Linked DNA regions of Homo sapiens: region 1 is linked to region 2. Evidence: promoter capture Hi-C in 16 types of primary human blood cells and fetal thymus (Javierre and others, 2016). All regions are on one chromosome and are shown on one strand. Each heading gives the region's core, a stretch centred on a gene start or on the middle of the fragment in contact. The rest is flanking DNA. Distances are from core to core; before and after follow the strand shown.

Region 1 (5,072 bases), core at 202-2,701, 5.7 Mb after region 2:
AGAAAAATGCAATATTTTTCTCCTGGACAGGGCATTAACATAGAAACTGTGAGGGCTCTTGAGGGACACATAAGATATCCATAAAGGTAAGTTAGGAGAGCAAGATGGCTAATAACACTGAGGCAGAAAGAAGGAATAGCTTAATTGTACTGAAGTAAGGGGTAGATGTGGAAGAATAGCTGGAAATTCTGTACATTATTTGTCTTACAGTAAGGATGGTTTCTCTGCAATATTCATAATAGAATCTGCCTTTTGGTAAACCTTTTCAATCCTTCTATAGACTTGGTGGGAAAGATTGAAAATCACAATTACTAATCAGTACTTTTTCTTGGTTTATTTCTTCCTTTTAAATGGGAGTAAAATAGTATCTAATTCCTGGGGGGTTGTTCAGAACTAAATTAGTTAATAAATGTAAAGTAGTTATAACTGTTCTTGCAATGTATTAAGGAGTGTAAAGCCGTTTCTTATGCTGTTGTTGTGCTGAGGGTTAATTGGGGCCAATTCAAATGCTCCATATTCATTCCATGAAGATTTTCTAATCTCTTCAACCCACTCTGATCTTTAACTTTGCTGTACACCTAGTCAGTGTTACCTGGTTAATACTTAGTTATTTGCTAATGATTTTGTGTATTTTCATTTTGTGTTTTCGTTAGATCATAAATTCCTCTTGGCAGGGACCACAAATATTGTACAATTGTCAGTGTAACTAGTATGACCGAAGACACCTAATAGACACTCAAAAAATGTAGCTAAACTAATCAATAGCTTTCATATCTTAGAAGTGCAGGAGTAAATAGTATGAAATGTAAGGCTGCACATTCATTAATGGGAAATAAAAATTATAAATAACCTCAAAAGACATCTAAGAAGAACTGCTCAAATGAAGAGTATTTTAGCATTCAGTTATTCAACAGTATCAGGGAACATCTGTTAGACACCTACTATTATGTGTGTATTTGTCCATAATAAATTCATTATTTAAATATGAGGTTTTGTAAATGAGTGAGGCTCAGAGAGGTCCACAGTCACACTATCATTAATAATGACAAAGCTTGCCAGGCATGGTGATTCATGCCTGTAATCCCAGTGCTTTGGGAGGTTAAGACCAGAAGATTGCTTGATCCCAGGAGTTCAACACCAGCCTCGGCAACATAGTGAGACCCCATCTCTACATAAATACAAAAATTAGCTGGGCATGGTGGTACACACCTATAGTCCTAGCTATTCAGGAGGCTGAGGGTAGAAGATCACTTAAATCCAGGAGTTGAGGCTACTGTGAGGTATGATCATTCACTGCACTCCAGCCAGTGTGAAAAAGGGAGATCTTGTCTCAATAATAATAATAATGGCAAAGCTATGTCTGCCAAACTTCTAATAGGTGCTCTTTCTTCTGTAATACCTTCCATTGATATAAGTAAATTTGAGAAATAATTTCCATTTGGGGACTGAATAGACATTTTATATAATTAGCACAATTATAGAGACATAAAGTGAAAATAAGAAAAATCAAAATGTTTATTTCCAGAATCAGCTAAAGAAACAGAGCAGGAGTTATGAAATGTCAAAAACTGATTGATTTAAAAGGCTGAAATTCTGCAAATGTATTTTGAATTCCCAAAATACATTAATATTAACATTTTCCAGTAGTGAAACAAATGCTTTTTTACAGTTAGTATGGAAAATCTTGGACAAGTATTTATTATTGAGAGAATCAAATTTCATAACAGCAATCAAATCCTTTGATTTTTATTTCATGTTTTTAAGAATCAGCCTACACCCTTTCTTGAACCCCAAGAAGTGGGCCATTTCTTTGCTAACTTGGAGTAGAGTAGAGCTAATGCATCATTAAATAAAGCTTGTCTCTATGCCAAGTCCTTTACTCAGCTCTGGTTATTAACTTAGTTGATAGCATTGCATAAAGATGCTCTCCTCTTATTTATTCATTTATTCATTTTTCAATAAATATTTAATGAACACTCATAATGTGCCAGGCACACTTCTTGGAATACATCCATGGAAAAAAATGAAGATCCCTGGCCTTGTGGAAAAACTAAAAAGAAATTGGGGTTGTATAGGGGAGAGTAATCAAGAAGGTTACAATTTTAAACAGGCTGGTCAGGACAGGCCTCATAGAAAATATGACGTTTGAGCAAAATCTTAGAAGCCAGGAGGAGAATATCTAGAGGAAAGAGCATTCCAGGCAGAGAAAGCTGTTAGTGCAAAGACCCTAAGACAAAGTGCTCCCAACATGTTTGAAGAATAAGGACTCCAATACATCTGTAAAGAGGTAAGAGCATTAAGAGAAGAAATATGTGATCAGTCTTCCCCCAATCCCCACAACCCAGGTGCAGAGGTTTTACCAGAGGCCGGGGTTGGGTGAAGACAAATCACACAGGTGCTTGTAGGCATTGAAAAGACTTTGACTTTAATTGGAGTGGAGAGATGGAAATGGAGAGCCTTTGCAAAGTTTTGAGCAGAGGAGTGACACGTGCAGTTGAAAATAAATAGCACATATTGGTGATGTGAATAACTCTTGGTAAAGTTCTGAACAAAACAAAACTGAATCTTCCCTTTTCTAGAAATTGGATCCCTAGAAAATTAAGTGCTGTATATGATAAAATCTTAAAAAAATACATAAATAAATAGTAAAAATCCATCCAATTACTTGTTCAAGGATAATTTAAAAGCATTAGGCTAGCCAAGGGAAAATGTCATTTGATGACACTTAAAATATACAGTCAATTTTTGCATTCTTAGGTATCAAGTATTGCATATTTATTAAACTTTTTATACTCAATGACAAATTTCACAATGATTATCTTAATTTTAATATGGAGAAATAATTCTCATTTCACCTAGGCTTAAAATAATGCCTTAATGTCTCATAATTAACTTTTTTGGTTATAAAAATAAAAAATATTAATAGCCATTAAAATGTGTTCATGAGTTTATCCAGCCACTATAAATCAGCAAGGTTAGTAAAATGTTTTTATCAAAGTTGTTTAATATCCAGAGTAGTTGGACTTTTTGGTTGTCACAAGGTTTTGGTATAGTTGAAAGTCCTCCTATAGAGAGTACATTAGCAGTCTCAGTTGCTAAAACAATGGAAAATTATTTTCTCACTGTTCTGGAGGCTAGAAGTCCAAGATCAAAGTGTTGGCAGATCTAGTTTCTTCTAAGACCTTTCTTCTTGGCTTGCCGATGGATTCCTTTTCCCTGTGTTCTCACATAATTACCCCTCAGTCTGTAGGTCTGTGTATTGTCTGCATTTGAATCTCCCCTTCTTATAAGGACACCAGTAATACTAGATCAGGCCTACCTGCATGGACTCATTTTATATCAATTATATCCATAAAGGCCCTATCTCAAAAAACAGTCACATTCTGAGGTACTGGGGGATTCAAATTTCAACAAATAAAGCTTGAGGGGACACAAGTCAGCCCATAACACATAGTATAAAGACCCAAATGATTTATCTGATGGAAACAAGACTCAGGATCAAAGCACACAATGACCTCACTAAGCACCAAAGCAGGAGAACCAAAACATGTTTTTGTTCAATTATGTTCATTTGTTTGTTTATTGCAGATTTTTATATCTTAAAAACATTAAAATAGTTACCATAAAAAAGCAGAACTTTATTACACATTCTAATTCTTATTAGAATAGAGTCTTGTTAACTGGTGACTATAGGTCTTAGCCAGCCTGTGGAAGATCCTGAGTAAGGGCTAAGGGAGCAGCCCAGCCAAGTAGGTGGGTATGGGCGGCAGGGCTCTGCCTCTCATATGGGAATTGGAGTGCAGCCTAGTTATAGGCTAAAGAGAGTCAAATTGGAAGCCTGCCACTTTGAACAGGGGATGTCAAGCACTCACTCTGGGAACATCAGATACAAGAGACTTGGGATACCAGATTTGGTTTGGATTCTTCTAGGGTCATCATACGGCAAATCATAAAGTGATAGAAAGGCATAGGCTTCAAAGTGGAAAAGTCTGAATCAAAACACATGCACACACACACACACACACAAACACACACACACACATATATATATAAAACATGCTGATCGTGAACCTATTAGAATGTAATCGAACCTCTCTGGGTCTCAATTTCAATAAATATCTCTAAACACCAGAACACTAGCTCATTTTGTTTACTATCTTCATTTTTCACAGCTGGCTAGGACTAGAAGAGATAGTTACAGATAATTATGAATTAATTCAGTGGAAAATAAACCAGACCTAAATTGGTCCAAAAGCAATACAGAATATATCTTCAGCCACCAGTGCCCCCAAAAATCACATGTAATAAAGTGTATAGTTTCCTGGCTTTGCATTGTGTTATGAAAATAACAAAGAATAAAGGTATCTCCTTTTATTTCTATCCAAAGGTGAAATCACCCCTGAGCACTAAATATTAGATTATTCTCTGTCTTGCTTAAACATTTGCTATTGCCATAGAAGCATGATGTTGACATTTCTTGTTGCTAGGAGCGTCATAGTGTTGGATACGTATACAATAGCATTCTGTTAGCTCAAACGTGGGGCTTTTTAAACAGCAGCATGCTCTTTTTATATCCTGGTACAGTAATCTAAAGTATAGATTTACCATGCAAATTATACATGAAAATCTGAATTTACTACTACACAGAAATAAAAGCACCAATGCTTAATAATTTATCTTTAAGGAATATTTTTGCAGCATCTCAGAGTGGAAAAAAAATAAAAACCTTGAAACAAAGCAGATGCCCATCAGTAGCAGAATGGCTGAATCTATTGTGCTGCATACAAGCCACAGAATATCATGGAATCTTTAAAAGGAATAAATTATAGCTATGCCAATTGACATGAAAGAGTTTCTACCATGCGTTATCAACTGAGAAAAGCAAAATGCATAAAATTGTTTATATACACCAATGTTCATAGCAGCATTATTCACAATAGTCAAAAGGTAGAAATAACTTGTGTCCATTGATGAACGAATAAAAAAAATGTGGTGTATGCATACAAACGAATATTATTTAGCTTTTAAAAAGACAGAAAATTATGACACATGTTTACAATATGGATGAACCT
Region 2 (4,768 bases), core at 1,048-3,547:
TTGCTTGGCTTCCTGGACTGGTTGCTAAATATAGTAATCTGATTTCTTGGACTGGTTACTGGACATAGTAGGTTGCCTTCCTGGACTGGTTGTTGAAGGTTGTAGGTTAGTGTTCTATTTGTATATATTCTCTGGCCATTGTCTATTTGAATTCAGTCTCCCAGGACGGAGGAGTAGGGAGGAAATAAGAAAGGGATAGGGTGGCCAGGTGATTAAGGCAAATAAACTCCTATCAGTACTCCAATAGTCCTGTTGTCAGAGGCGTTTGAACCAGAGTGACTCCAACTTGAACAGGTGCTGGGTAAAACGAGGCTGAGACCTACTGAGCTGCATTCCCAGGAGGTTAGGCATTCTTAGTCACAGAAGATTGGAGGTCCACGCAAGATACAGGTCACAAAGACCCTGCTGATAAACAGGATGTCGTAAAGAAGACAGGCCAAACCCACCAAAACCAAGATGAAGACAAAAGTGACCTCTGGTCATCCTCACTTCTCATTATACGTGAATTATAATGCATTAGCATGCTAAAAGACACTCCCACCAGCACCATGACAGTTTACAAATGCCATGGCAACATCCAGAAGTCATACAGTCTAAAAGAGGGTAGAACCCTAAGTTCCAAAAATTGCCTGCCCCCTTCCTTGAAAACTCATGAATAATCCACCCCTTGTTTAACATATAATTAAGAAATAACTGGCTGGGCGCGGTGGCTCACGCCTGTAATCCCAGCACTTTGGGAGGCCGAGCCAGGAGGATCACCAGGTCAGTAGATTGAGACCATCCTGGCTAACACGGTGAAACCCTGTCTCTACTAAAAATACAATAAATTTCCAGCTACTCGGGAGGCTGAGGCAGGAGAATGGCGTGAACCCGGGAGGCGGAGCTTGCAGTGAGCCGAGATGGCGCCACTGCACTCCAGCCTGGGCGACAGAGCAAGACTCCGTGTCAAAACAAACAAACAACACACAAAAAAACTATATACTCAGTCCAGCAGCCCAAGCCACTGCTCTGCCTATGGAGTAGCCATTCTTTTGTTTCTTTACTTCTTTAATAAACTTGCTTTCACTTCACTATATGGACTCATGATTGGCAACGCTTTCTGGTAACACTGCCCAGGTTTCCTTTGTCAAGCGTGCCTTTCTCAGCCCTACATACCCACAGTTAAATAATCCCTTCTCTCCTGTTTATTTTTCAACTATTGAAAATAGCAAACATCTTAAAACAATTTGTCTTCATGTTTTTCCTCTTAAAAAATTGCAAACGTCTTCTGGGCAGGATTTATGTATTGTTTATCTTATTTATTCTCTTCCTATTGCATCTGGAACACAGTCTGTTTTCAATACCGTTTGTTGAACTCCAGGGTAGATTACAGGGCTGTGTATTATAATCTACAGTACTTTAACTGAAGTTACTCGTTTATTGGTGACTACATTGCTGTCAAAAATACACTCATGTGGCTGGGTGTGGTGGCTCATGCCTGTAATCCCAACACTTTGGGAGGCTGAGGCGGGCGGATCAGGAGGTCAAGAGATCAAGACCATCCTGGCCAACACGGTGAAACCTGGTCTCTACTAAAAATACAAAAATTAGCTGGGCGTGGTGGCGCATGCCTGTAGTCCCAGCTACTTGGGAGGCTGAGGCAGGAGAATCGCTTGAACCTGGGAGGCGGAGGTTGCAGTGAGCCGAGATCGCATCACTGCACTCCAGCCTGGTGACAGCGCCAGACTCCGTCTCAAAAAAAACCCCCCAAAAACAGAAAAACAAAAACAAAAAACCGCAGATGTTATAGAATATAAAATTATAAATGACAAAAAGCTTGAAATAAAACGAGCAGAGCATATAAAAGTTAATGAAGCTGAAGAAAACGTGAGCTTCTCCGTACACTTAACAAGGCTGCGATTTTTACCAACTTTTTTGCACTGTTGTAGCCCCAATAATGTATCTAAAATGGTACTTGACACAGTTTATATCCTTAAGAATGTATGCATGCACGCACGCGTGAAGAATGAATGAATGAGGGGTCGTCCCTTTGCACACACGGAGGTCTACGGGCCGCAGAGTACCTACAGCATGGCCACCGCAAGCGCAACTAAAATCCAGGGCTTGTCGCAGGCACAGGCTCCTCCTTCGGTGGGTGGGACGGCGGCGCGCACTTTCTCTACGCCCCACTGCTAGGATGTGCGGCCACCACTCCTCCTCCGCCGCCGCCGCCGCCGCCGCCGCCGCCGCCGCGTCGAGTGCAAGGGCTTCTGGGAGCCGAGCCTCGGGGTCTCGGAGAAGGGGCGCAGGTGGCCGCCATCTTGGATTGCGAACTGGGTCGCTACGCTTCACGCCAGGGGCGGAGTGGCGGCCCTTCTGTTACCCGCCACACACGTCGCCGCTGGGGACTGGGAAATCAGGGCATCGGAGAGTGCCACATTAATGGGTAAGTTGGAGTGAACACGGGCTAGGTTGGGGGAGCCTCGGTTTTGGTCCCTTTGGGAACTACTAGTTCCTGGGGCCACGGTTTTTATTTACCCCTTACTTTGCGAAGGTCTCTGGAACCTGGCGGTGCCGGGTGTTTCTCGTGTTTTCCCCAGGGCGACAGCGGTCGCGGGGGCGTGGCAGCCGGACCTTTCCCTTGCGGACGCGAAGGCGTGGTGAGTTCAGATTCTTTCAGCAGGTCCTCTGGAGTGATGGGCAGCTGGTCTCATCTTCGCCGCCCCGCCTCACCGTTTCTCGGTAGTTCTTTTCAGTTAATGGAATTGCCAAACGTTGCCACTCATACCTGGTACCCATCAGCTGTGTCCAGCAGCTTATGGAAATTCCACAGTGTCCAAAGAAGAGACAGGTTCCATCCCGAGGGCCTCCTAGCCTCGCCCTCTCCATCCGCCAGCCTCCCTCCTCCACCTGCGTGCAGGTGCCTCTAGTGCTCATTCCCGACGACAAGGCAAGCCTGGGTTCCACGCTTCTAATAGTCGGGCAGCTCCGTTCTAAGATGAAAACTTAGGTTTTCATCGATAATACATAGGAGATGGAAGTATTTGAAAGCTGTGAAATGACAGTGATATGTCTAAAGAATATGACATTGGCGGCGGGCGCGGTGGCTCACGCCTGTAATCCCAGCACTTTGGGAGGCGGAGGCGGGCGGATCACGAGGTCAGGAGATCGAGACCATCCTGGCTAACACGGTGAAACCTCGTCTCTACCAAAAATACAAAAAATACAAAATAAAATACAAAATAATAAATACAAAAAAAATACCAAAAATACAAAAAAAGGAAAAATTAGCCTGGCATGGTGGTGGGCGCCTGTAGTCCCAGCGACTCGGGAGGCTGAAGCAGGAGAACGGTGTGAACCCGGGCGGCGGAGCTTGCAGTGAGCCGAGAGCGCCATTGCACTCCAGCCCGGGCGACAGAGCGAGACTCTGTCTCAAAAAACAAACAAAAGAATATGACACTGGCATTTACTTTTGAGCTTTTTAGACATGTTTTTTAAAAAAGACAAAAACACTAATGATTTATCTCTCAATTACAACACCCAATAATGATGACTCATATTCTGTACAAAAGTGGTTTTCTTGGTAGGTCAGGAGCAACTCTCTCCCTCCGACCTAAGTACTGCTTGTTTGGTTGTGAGGGCTCTCTAGTTGGCACTTCCCCCGCTTTGTGCAGTCTTTTACTTTCACTAATGAGGCGCCCAGCCCCATGGAAATGAAGGCTTTACTGGCATAAGAAATAATGTCGATTGATATTAAAGAAAATCATAAGTTCAGATTCCAGTTATTTGCCCAACTTAAACATGGTTTTTCTAAGAGCCGTTGAAAGCTTATGAATGAAAAAAATTCCTCTATTCTGTAACTTTAAAGTGCTGGAATAACATTTCTAAATAAAAATATTTAATTTTTATGAGACCTCAGCCTTTGAAGTGCAGCCTTTAAATTTATTTTTCAGTGAACGAAACAATCCCATTGGATGGGGCCCCTTTAGAGATAATTTCCCTTGGTTTATTGTCCCCTTTAAAGCAACTGCAGTGAGGATGGATGCAGTGTTAAATCTGAAGCCGGAAGTCAGTACTATTGAAGAAAAAGGAACAAGTGATATCTGAGTTGTTGGTGCTGTATTTTATTTGGCTAAAATTTATGCTGAACAGTTACAATGTGGTTGCTTGGATTAATGGTCTCATAAGTAGCGCCTTTGTATGTGTGCGTGGTGGGGCACAAGGTGATCCAGTCAGATGTGGTAAGAAAATATTAGAACTTCTATTTGTTTACCTTTTAAAACTTTCATTCTTAAAAATTTCTGTTTTTTGTGAATTTTATGCTAGAGTAGTATATTAGAATAGTAATGCATGTATAGAAATAAATATATTGAGGATGAATGCACAAATGTATTTTACGAATGTAGGATGTGTGATTGAAAACGTTTAGAGCCAGTGGCCTAGAATATGCTACATATATAGGTGATAAATACTTTAAGAGTTTTATTTCCATGAGCATTTTATTTTACTTAAATATTTTATATATATTGAGCGTAATTCAACAACTAATACTGTGGTCAGTTTGCACTGTAATGAACTCTGATCTCTAATTTTTTCCTTTCAAGAGTCTAGCTTTTTATAGATATAAAATAGAGAATAATACCAAACATTGTTATTAGTAAAGTTATGTTGAGCGGTTTCCCTCTTTTATTTATTATTTTTTTTTGAGATGGAGTCTCACTCTGTGGCCCAGGCTGGAGTGCAGTGGCATGATCTTGGCTCACTGCAAGTTCCGCCTCCCGGGGTTCAT

What was found. Contacts are between HindIII fragments. The CHiCAGO score rates a contact against its expected background, and 5 or more counts as called.
Region 1: a fragment that was not itself captured here is called in contact with the fragment with the promoter of KPNA5 in region 2 in 1 of 17 cell types (total CD8 T cells); the score reaches 5.8 in total CD8 T cells.

What each region holds. Positions count from the first base shown.
Region 1 is chr6:122,385,398-122,390,469 of GRCh38, forward strand. No RefSeq gene overlaps it. Among named protein-coding and RNA genes, the nearest start is that of HSF2, 12 kb to the right of the region's middle. The HindIII fragment of the contact is 804 bases long and covers 1,050-1,853 here.
Region 2 is chr6:116,678,914-116,683,681 of GRCh38, forward strand. It overlaps KPNA5 (karyopherin subunit alpha 5), which reads left to right and starts at 2,298. Exons shown (of 14, transcript NM_001366306.2): 1 at 2,298-2,425. The coding sequence starts at 2,422. RefSeq lists enhancers at 1,895-2,878, 2,879-3,860. The HindIII fragment of the contact is 1,991 bases long and covers 1,814-3,804 here.